2 separate regions of the Homo sapiens genome follow, and region 2 is linked to region 1. Evidence: promoter capture Hi-C in human tissues and cell types (Jung and others, 2019). All regions are on one chromosome and are shown on one strand. The core of a region is centred on a gene start or on the middle of the fragment in contact, and the rest is flanking DNA. Distances in the headings are between cores, read along the strand shown. Region 1 holds the start of IFITM1 (interferon induced transmembrane protein 1). Region 2 holds the start of PKP3 (plakophilin 3).

Evidence for each region. The method cuts DNA at HindIII sites, captures the fragments that hold promoters and counts their contacts. A contact is called where the count stands out against the background at its distance.
Region 2: the fragment with the promoter of PKP3 here is called in contact with the fragment with the promoter of IFITM1 in region 1 in 16 of the 25 tissues and cell types used here (H1 embryonic stem cells, IMR-90 fibroblasts, adrenal gland and 13 more).

What each region holds. Positions count from the first base shown.
Region 1 is chr11:312,790-315,289 of GRCh38, reverse strand. IFITM1 (interferon induced transmembrane protein 1) reads right to left here and starts at 1,250. Exons shown (of 2, transcript NM_003641.5): 1 at 934-1,250; 2 at 18-368. The coding sequence starts at 1,119. The coding sequence ends at 177. RefSeq lists enhancers at 257-416, 947-1,286, 754-1,309, 1,310-1,865. The HindIII fragment of the contact is 8,559 bases long and covers 1-2,500 here.
Region 2 is chr11:392,255-398,542 of GRCh38, reverse strand. It overlaps PKP3 (plakophilin 3), which reads right to left and starts at 4,334. Exons shown (of 13, transcript NM_007183.4): 1 at 4,019-4,334; 2 at 1,856-1,935; 3 at 1,098-1,729; 4 at 881-1,004. The coding sequence starts at 4,250. RefSeq lists enhancers at 1,631-2,160, 4,119-4,881. The HindIII fragment of the contact is 50,700 bases long and covers 1-6,288 here.

The DNA of each region.
Region 1 (2,500 bases), core at 1-2,500:
ATGAAGTCACAGCATCATCACAAGCACGTGCACTTTATTGAATGACACTGTAGACAGGTGTGTGGGTATAAACTGCTGTATCTAGGGGCAGGACCAAGGGGGCAGGGGCAACAGCCCCAGCGTGCAGGGCCAGCATTGCACAGTGGAGTGCAAAGGTTGCAGGCTATGGGCGGCTACTAGTAACCCCGTTTTTCCTGTATTATCTGTAACATAATATGGTAGACTGTCACAGAGCCGAATACCAGTAACAGGATGAATCCAATGGTCATGAGGATGCCCAGAATCAGGGCCCAGATGTTCAGGCACTTGGCGGTGGAGGCATAGGCCTGGGCCCCGGTCACGTCGCCAACCATCTTCCTGTCCCTAGACTGGGGGAGAGGAGATGGTGAGGGGACCAGGATCCCCCAGCTGAGAGCCGCGTGCTATGGCTCCGTCTCCTCCCCGCCCTGAGATCAGGGACCACCTCCTCCCCTTCCTCACCCGGGCTCAGACTCTCCAGGAGCCTCGGGGCTCATCCTCCTTCTGCCTTGGCCCCAGCACAGGCTGTTCTCCCCACCATGGGGTGAAGTCACCTGTGAGTTCCCTTCTCACTTTCTGGGAGAGCCTGGGTGCCAGTCTGGAAGGTGAGGGTGTAATTTCTTACTGGGCTATAGGGAGAATTGCTCTGGGCTAATGGATAGCCAGGGACAGACTCTGAGCCAGCCAGCCAGCCTCCTGGAGCCTCCTCCTAGACCTGCACTGGGCAGATTCCCCAAAGCCACACACACACACAGATCACACAGACAAAGCTACTGACGTGAGCACACACGGGGCAGAGGTGCACACAAACTCACAGTCACAGGGACACACAAGTCCCCACCCCAGGCAGCATGTGGGCAGGTGGAGCCCCAGGCTCACCGGCACCCCCTGGATTTCCGCCAGGGCCATACGCACCTTCACGGAGTAGGCGAATGCTATGAAGCCCAGACAGCACCAGTTCAAGAAGAGGGTGTTGAACAGGGACCAGACGACATGGTCGGGCACGGAGGTCTCGCTGTGGATGTTGATCACGGTGGACCTTGGAAGGATGGTGCTGGGGGGTGGCCCCAGCACAGCCACCTCATGTTCCTCCTTGTGCATCTTCTGGCTTTGGGGAAGGAAGTGTTGAGTGAAGGTTTGAGAAGTGTGGTTTTCTGCGTGGAGCGAAGGGCCGCTGTGGTGTCCGGATGCTGGGACGGTGCTCAGTGAGACCTCCTTTCCCCTGTCGTTTCAGTTTCTCAGAAGTGTGTATTTCTCTTAAGTTTCTATTTCCTGCTGTTTGTAAATTGGTGAATTAGCCAGGGACCAATGAGGTGTGGTTTAACTTCTTGAGGATCAAATTACTTTATGGCAGGGTGGGAGGAAAGGCTGAAGGCTAAGGAGAGAGGCTTCCTCATCAGAAACTCAAGTCAGGACTAGTGACTTCCTAAGTGTTGGGTTTAGGGGGCCCTGGGGATTTTACCCAGGCTTGGGTTCTGTCCACCCCAGGCCAGCAAGTACAGGACCTCACTGTCCCGGTTCAGGGCCCCTGCCAGGCCCCCACACTCCAGGCGCCAGGACAATCCCCCAAAAGCCCTCACCTCACTTGTCGCAGGCCTCTCTCCTGAAATCCTTGCTCTTTCCTCAGGCTGCAGTCCTGCTCTGTGCGGGTTTGGGGACTAAACCTCCCAGTGTCTCCTGGTGCAGGTCAGAGGCCTGGTGGCCAAAGTTTCCTGCCCCAAAGCAGCCCTCCAGGCCCAGGAACGGGGACTCTGGGGAGAACTGACTCCCCAGAGGGTAGTGTGTTGAGACACGGGGAGGATTCCAGGGCCTGTAGGGGCAGCTTCAGAGCACAGGGCACACATGTGCCACCCCCTACCTTCCGGGTCCCAGCAATTCCCATGGCTTTGGTTGGGGTGAGTGCTGGATGACCTAGGCGTTGGGTCCTAGCCATGCAGGAGAGACCTGGAGGGTTGGCAAAGCCAAGTCTGGGGCTGTCAGGCCTGGGTGCCCCTTCACAGGGACGGGGAATTGTAGACTGAGTAGCAGAAGGGAGCCCTCAGGCACAAGGATCATGAATTACAAATTGCAAATTACATAAAGGAAAAATCAGAGCCCAAAGGTGGGCCTGCAATTATTAATGTAATGTTCTTAAGTTCTCTTTCTGCTTTCGTTTCTGCCTGCTTTAAGTCTGCTGTTACTTTTCTACAGAGATAAAATCCACTGTTTGCATCCAACCATTTCTTTTTATTGTTTGTGTAAACCAATGAATTTGTATTACTATCTCATGGCTGGAGTTCTGAAGTAAAACCATACTTTTGCTTGAGTGTGTATGTGTGTATATGTGCACATACACATATTTCGTTATGTGTTTTTGGCCACAAGTTACCAAATTTAGCTTAAACTTAAAGAGTACTCATAAATTAAATAATAAGCCTAAATGCTTTTCACGTTCATGTGACTTAAGTAGAATCTTTAATAAGCTAGCTTTAAAATTACTGGT
Region 2 (6,288 bases), core at 3,085-5,584, 80 kb before region 1:
GGTGTGTGCGGGGGTACGGAGGTGATGCAGGTGTGTGCGGGGGTAGGGAGGTGACAGAGGTGTGTGCGGGGGTACGGAGGTGACGCAGGTGTGTGCGGGGGTAGGGAGGTGACGCAGGTGTGTGCGGGGGTACGGAGGTGACGCAGGTGTGTGCGGGGGTAGGGAGGTGACGCAGGTGTGTGCGGGGGTACGGAGGTGACGGAGGTGTGTGCAGGGGTACGGAGGTGACGCAGGTGTGTGCGGGGGTAGGGAGGTGACGCAGGTGTGTGCGGGTGTACGGAGGTGATGAGGTATATGTGGGGGTAGGGAGGTGACGCAGGTGTGTGCGGGGGTACGGAGGTGATGAGGTATATGTGGGGGTAGGGAGGTGACGCAGGTATGTGCGGGTGTACGGAGGTGATGAGGTATATGTGGGGGTAGGGAGGTGACACAGGTGTGTGCGGGGGTACGGAGGTGACGGAGGTGTGTGCGGGGGTACGGAGGTGACGCAGGTGTGTGCGGGGGTACGGAGGTGACGCAGGTGTGTGTGGGGGTATGGAGGTGATGCAGGTGTGTGCGGGGGTACGGAGGTGACGGAGGTGTGTGCGGGGGTATGGAGGTGATGAGGTATATGTGGGGGTACGGAGGTGACGCAGGTGTGTGCGGGTGTACGGAGGTGATGAGGTATATGTGGGGGTACGGAGGTGATGCAGGTGATACTGGTGTATCCAAATTGTATCCTTCTGCTCTTCCTCTGCTGAGGGGGCTCCAGACAGAGTGGGGTCTACCCAGTCAGCTTGGGGATCATGAGGGGTGCTCAGTGAGCAGAGGACAGTGGGAGGTGGTGGGGCCCACGAAGGAGGTCACCAGGGGGCAGCGAGTGGGTGGTCGGGGTGGTCACCTGCTTCTTGGCGGCTGCATCGCTGTAGCACTTGTGCTGGATGTAGGCCGCTCCCAGCACCTGCAGGTTGGGGTCTGAAGCCATGAGGTACTTGACTGCTGAGGGCAGGTCAATGTCATCAAAACTGCGGAGCCAGGGGTCAGGGGTCAGGCTAACTTTGGGTTCAGGCTGGGCCCGTGGTAGAAGCCCCCTCCCTGAGCCGGGCCCAGCCGCTCACCCGCTGCTGAGTCTCTGCAGGGTTCGGTGGCTACCGTAGCTGTTGAACCCATGCACGTCCGGCAGGTGGCCCGAGTCAGCCAGGCTGAGGCTGAGGCTGCGCACAGATGGCGCTCGAGCCACTGGCTCCAGGACGGCCCCCGGCACTGCCCCGCCTACCCCGCGGCTCCGGTGGCTGCTCTGGAATCGCTGCAGGGTCCGCACGGCAGGGGCACGGATGGTCCGGCTCGGGGAAACCTCAGTGGCCTCGGGCCAGTCCAGCCCCCCTGCCCGGCTGGAGCTGGAGCTGGCCTGGCGCTCGTACGCAAAGGCCCTGTAGGTGGAGGTGGCCGCGGGCTCCAGCTGCTCAGACACCAGGCTGTAGCGGTCGTCCAGGCCCCCGGGCCCCAGCCGCAGCGAGCGCAGGGAGAGTGTGTCATAGTCGGCCCGGCTCCCAACCCCACCGCGCTCATGGAAGGACACGGGCCTGGTGGGCATGGGAGGGGTGGGCTGGGCACCCCCGTACCCAGCGGCCCCAAAGGCGCTGCCCCCGTTGTGGGCTGAACTCAGCCTCCGACTGCAGCTCAGATCCACGGCGGAGCGGGAGGACCAGGAGGCTGGGCTGTAGGCCGGCTTGGCGATGGGCCGGAAGCCCTGTGGGTCGAGAGGGGGCGGTGAGGGCGTGCCTGGGCTCACCTGTGTCCGGGCCCGCTGCAGAGCCTCCCACTCTCCAGACTGCAGAGCTCAGATCGTCCCCCTCGGGCTGGGCCCATCGCTCACCGAGGTCTTGTCCCCACTCAGGCCCTGAGAGCGAGAGCTGAAGCCAGCCTGCAGGGTGTGGTACTGCCCCCTGGATGTGCCTGTGGAGAGGGACGGTGGTAGCCCAGCTCTGCCACACAGCAAAGCACTGGCCTCCTGCCTCCTCTCCACCACTCCATCGCTATTGGCAACCCTAGGAGCAGCCTCCAATCCAGGGCAGGGAGGCCAGGGGGGCACCAGGGCCAGTGCCTCCCCATTCCTGCCATGGCTTGGTCTCCTCACATGTCAGCCCTGGTGGTCCATCTTCCACAGCCCACCCCCCAGCTGTGCCTCCTCTACCCGAGAGGGCAGATACGCTCACCCACTGACCTCCTGGTCGCCAGGAGGAATGTGCCAGGGCCTCTGACATCAGTTCTCCAATCCTTGCCATGGTACAGTGCCCAGCCTCCTCCAGGAAGCCAGCCTGGCCTGCCCCGGCCCACACTGACTCCTTTTGAGCCCCTCCTGTGCCCAAACCTCATCTGTGCCCGGTCACAGGAGAGTGACACTGTCTCCCTGGACCAGTATGCCCTGTTGCAGTGCCCTGTCCCACCCGGCAGAGCCTGAGGCAGGGGCCACACCCACCCCGTCCAGCCACACACACGCCAAGGGCAGCTGCGTCAGCCCGACTCCACAGTGAGTGGACAGACAGGTGGGTGGGCAGAGGGTGGAGGGCGGAGGGTGGATGGAGGGACAGGCAGGAGGAGGATGGGAGGGCTGCTGTGACTGCTGGAAGGATGGACAGAGTGGTGGATGGAGGGGTGGGACAGCCGTCGACGACAGGGTCCCATGGTTGGATGGTGAGTGGGCAGAGGGATGGACTCGTGGATGGGTGCAGAGAGGATGGGCTGATGGTGGGGGCATGAGAAGGCCCACCAGAGCGACCTGGCTGAGGGGCTCAGGGTGGGGTGCAGGGAAAGGGGCCGTGGCCCTCCCACAACTCTGCCCAGAGCTGGATGCTCTGTGGGGGACACCCCCATGGCAGAGGCCCCAGGTTCACCCTGGTTAATGGGGCTTCTGGGCCGGGGCTATTAACCCTCTGACGCTCGTGAGGCCCAGCCCGGAGTGGGGGCACGCCCCAGCCTGGGGACCTCACCCCCACCCCCCAATTATAATCCACCTCCCTCTAATTGGCAGGGCAGCCAGGGTGGTAATTAACCCTTCCCTCACCGTCCTCCACCCCATGACCCCTGGGCACCCGACTTGGTCACCAGCAAGGCTGAGGCCCCTGGAGGGAGGACCCCACAGTCCAGGCCGCCGGGCCGGCCCCTCCGCTGGGCGACCTTCACTTCCCCCTGGCCAGTGGCTGGAGGCCAGTCCTGGGGAAGGCCCCTCTAAACACCAAGTGGACCATGATGAACTGGCATCTGGGTCCCTGGCATTCTGGGAGGTCCATCTTACTGTCTAACCTTAATCCCTGTTGCTGTAGCCTGGGAAGGAGGAAATGGCGTTCCTAGAACCACTGCCTTCAACTCACAGCGTCTGTGCTCCTGTCACTCACACTCACACGCATGCACACACACTCGCGTGAGTGGGGCCAGGATTCCGCCACAGGTGGGTCTGGCTGGCACCGAGGGGTGCTCCTCCACCTGCTGTTCCCACAGAGAAATCTAGGTCACTCCAGCCGGGCCCTCCCCTCTAATTCCTCAGGGAGCCCCTGGTCCAGACAGGCCTGGCTTTCCTCCAGGACTTCCAGCACCCCCACACCTCTCCCCGCTTTCCCGTTCTGCTCATTCCCGTGAGGTATGGGAGGAGCGTGGGTGTCTGGGTGTCCCTGAGACCCTATGTGAGTCTGTGCTACCGGGGCCAGGCGCGTGCGTGTTCCGGGTTTGCCGACCGAGTGGCCTGGCCCGCCTGCCATGTGCCAACCTTCCCTGTCATCCCCCACAGGGATGGCTCCAGGACTCCAGGCACAGGTGGGGCCTGGCCAGGCTCAGTCTTTGGAGGACCCCGGGGTCCCTGCTTGGACAGGGCAGCCCCACCCATGGCTTCTCCCCACGCCCCTGGGGCGGGGTGTGTGACTCAGTGTGAGGCCTGGTGAGTCAGGAGCCGGCCTCACTGCGGCCTCTGCCCTCACACTATCACGTCCGCCCGCAGCCACCTCTCCCCGCCACCGCCATCCCCGCCGCTGTCCCCACCGCCTACCTCTGGCAGTCTCGGCCTCAGGCTCGGGCTCAGCGGCCCCGTTGTGCCGCGGCTGCTGTCCCAGCTGCAAGAGGCGGGCGCGGACCTGCTCCTGGACGCGGGCTGCCCGCAGCCGCTCGGCCTCCGGCCCCTCGGCGCCCCGGCGGTCCAGCTGCAGGTCAGAGGGCAGCGCCAGGGAGCACACGCCGGCCTCAGGCTGCAGGGCCGACAGCAGGAAGTTACCGTCCTGCATGGCGGCAGGTCCACCGGGCCTGGGCCTGGCGGCCGCCTCCAAACCCAACTATCTTCACGTCCTGTCCCTCGAGGCCCTCTCCCTGAAGTCCCCGCCCAGCCAGCCTCACCCAGAGCCGCCTGAAGACAGACGCCTGCCCAGCCCTGAGCGCAGCTGGGGGCGGGGACACCTGGCCAGGTGGGAGGGAGGGGCCGCCGCCTGCTTAAGGTGGAATTTGGGCGGAAGAACAGGCCCTGCATGGCCCCAGGTCCCAGCCTGGCCTCCCGCCTCCTTTTCTCCCATCCCACAACAGGGCCACGGGGACCTGGGTCCTTCTTGTTCTCAGCCTGTAAAGGCCAGACCGGGCCCTTTGTCGTGGGGCTGGGACAGAGGGGCCCTCTGTGTCCTGAGTGTCAGGGAAGGGCAGGGGGCCTGCGGGGGGCCTATGTCCTGCCACCCCCAGCATGAAGGGGAGGGTGCCCCAGTCCCTGGGGGTCTAGGGCCCTAGGTAGCTCCAAGAATCAGCCAGCCTCCATGGTAGCCCAGCCTTCCTGGTGAGGTGGGGATGAGGCCTAGGAAGGGTTGGCAGGAGACACTGTCGGGAGTCAGGGGTCAGTGCCAGGGATCAGGACAAAGGCTGGAGGGACAGAGCTTTAGGGTCCAACGGGACTCCATGGAGGCCCTGGCCCTGGTCCTTGGAATCCAGCGAGCCCCCTCCGCACCAGGAAGCATGTGGATGGACCGGCCCTCCCCCGAAGCCTGCAGACCCTGGAACTCACCCCCAGGACCCCCTCACCCCCTACAGAGGCCTCCAAAACCCTCTCTGGCTTCTGGGACCCTGGCACCACTGCTCCTGCACCCCAGGCCCTGGGGTGGGAGGCCGTTCCCAGCACATGAGTCAGGGTGCAGGGGGGCGGGGCCGCCCCAGGGGGTTGACTCAGAGGGCCTGCACTCCTGTCAGCGCATGTCAGGCTGGGGCAGGAGCGGGTGTGCAGGGAAGAACCAGGGGTCTGGAAGAGCAGAGGCCTGGATGGAGAGGGAGCGAGGGTGGGGGGCCCCTGGTGGGGGTGGGGTAGTGGGGGGCCCCTGGTGGGGGGGCCCTGGACCAAGCAGGGCTTGTGCCCAGAAGGTCTCCTTCTAGCACCACAGCCAGCAAATGGGCTCTGAGGCCCTCTAGCCTCTGGGACAAGCCCCTGGTAGATGGGGGTGGGGATAAGCCTAGGAGGGCTGGGGGTGGGAGCTGAACATCTATGACAACCTCTGGGCTTCTCTCACGAGCTCATCGGACAGCCTCTGCTTCTCCCTGGACCCTGGACCCTGGCTCTGGGCTCTCCTCCAGGGCAGACCCTTGCCCCCTAGCTCCGTCCCTGGAAGATTTTTGCCTTAATGGGGCTGGGGCAGGGGTCTGGCGTGAGGGCCGGGTCAGGGTTAGGAGGCAGCATTAAGGGTGAGGTCAGTTCTGAGGGGAGGAAGCTGGAGAGTAGGAGTCGGAGGTCAGCGTGGGGGGTTAAAGGGGGAGGGGAAGGTCCACTGAAAGGATGGGTGAGGCCCGGGCTGGGGCCACCAGGTGGGGTCGGGGTGGTGGGGAAGGGGTGGGAGACCTACCCGGCTCGTGGTCCGGATCCCGCCAGCCTCCCAGCTCATCCCAGAGGCCACTGCTGACGGCCGAGGTGTCCAGGACTCCATCCCTGGCCCGGCGCGTGCGGGGCAGCCTCTGCGGCGGGGACAGGACTGTGGGGGCCTCGGAGGGCGGGGTGGGAACGCCCAGCTCATCGGACTGGCTGATTCCCTGGGAGACAGGTTTCGTGTGGAAAAATCCTGGGAGACAAGTTTGTGCGGCGCAGAGCGGGCCTGGAGGTATGTGCCTGGCATGGGCTGGGTCCCGCCCTGCACCCAGGTCCACCCCAGGCCCACCTGGGGCCCTGCAGGGGCCAGGCTGGGCGGCATGAGGGGGAAGCCAGCCTGGAGGGCCTCTGCAGCCCAGTCAGGCCGAAGGGCTCACAAGAGGACTCAGTGAAGGGGCTTCCGTGCGGCTGGAGCTATGATGGGAACGCCGGTA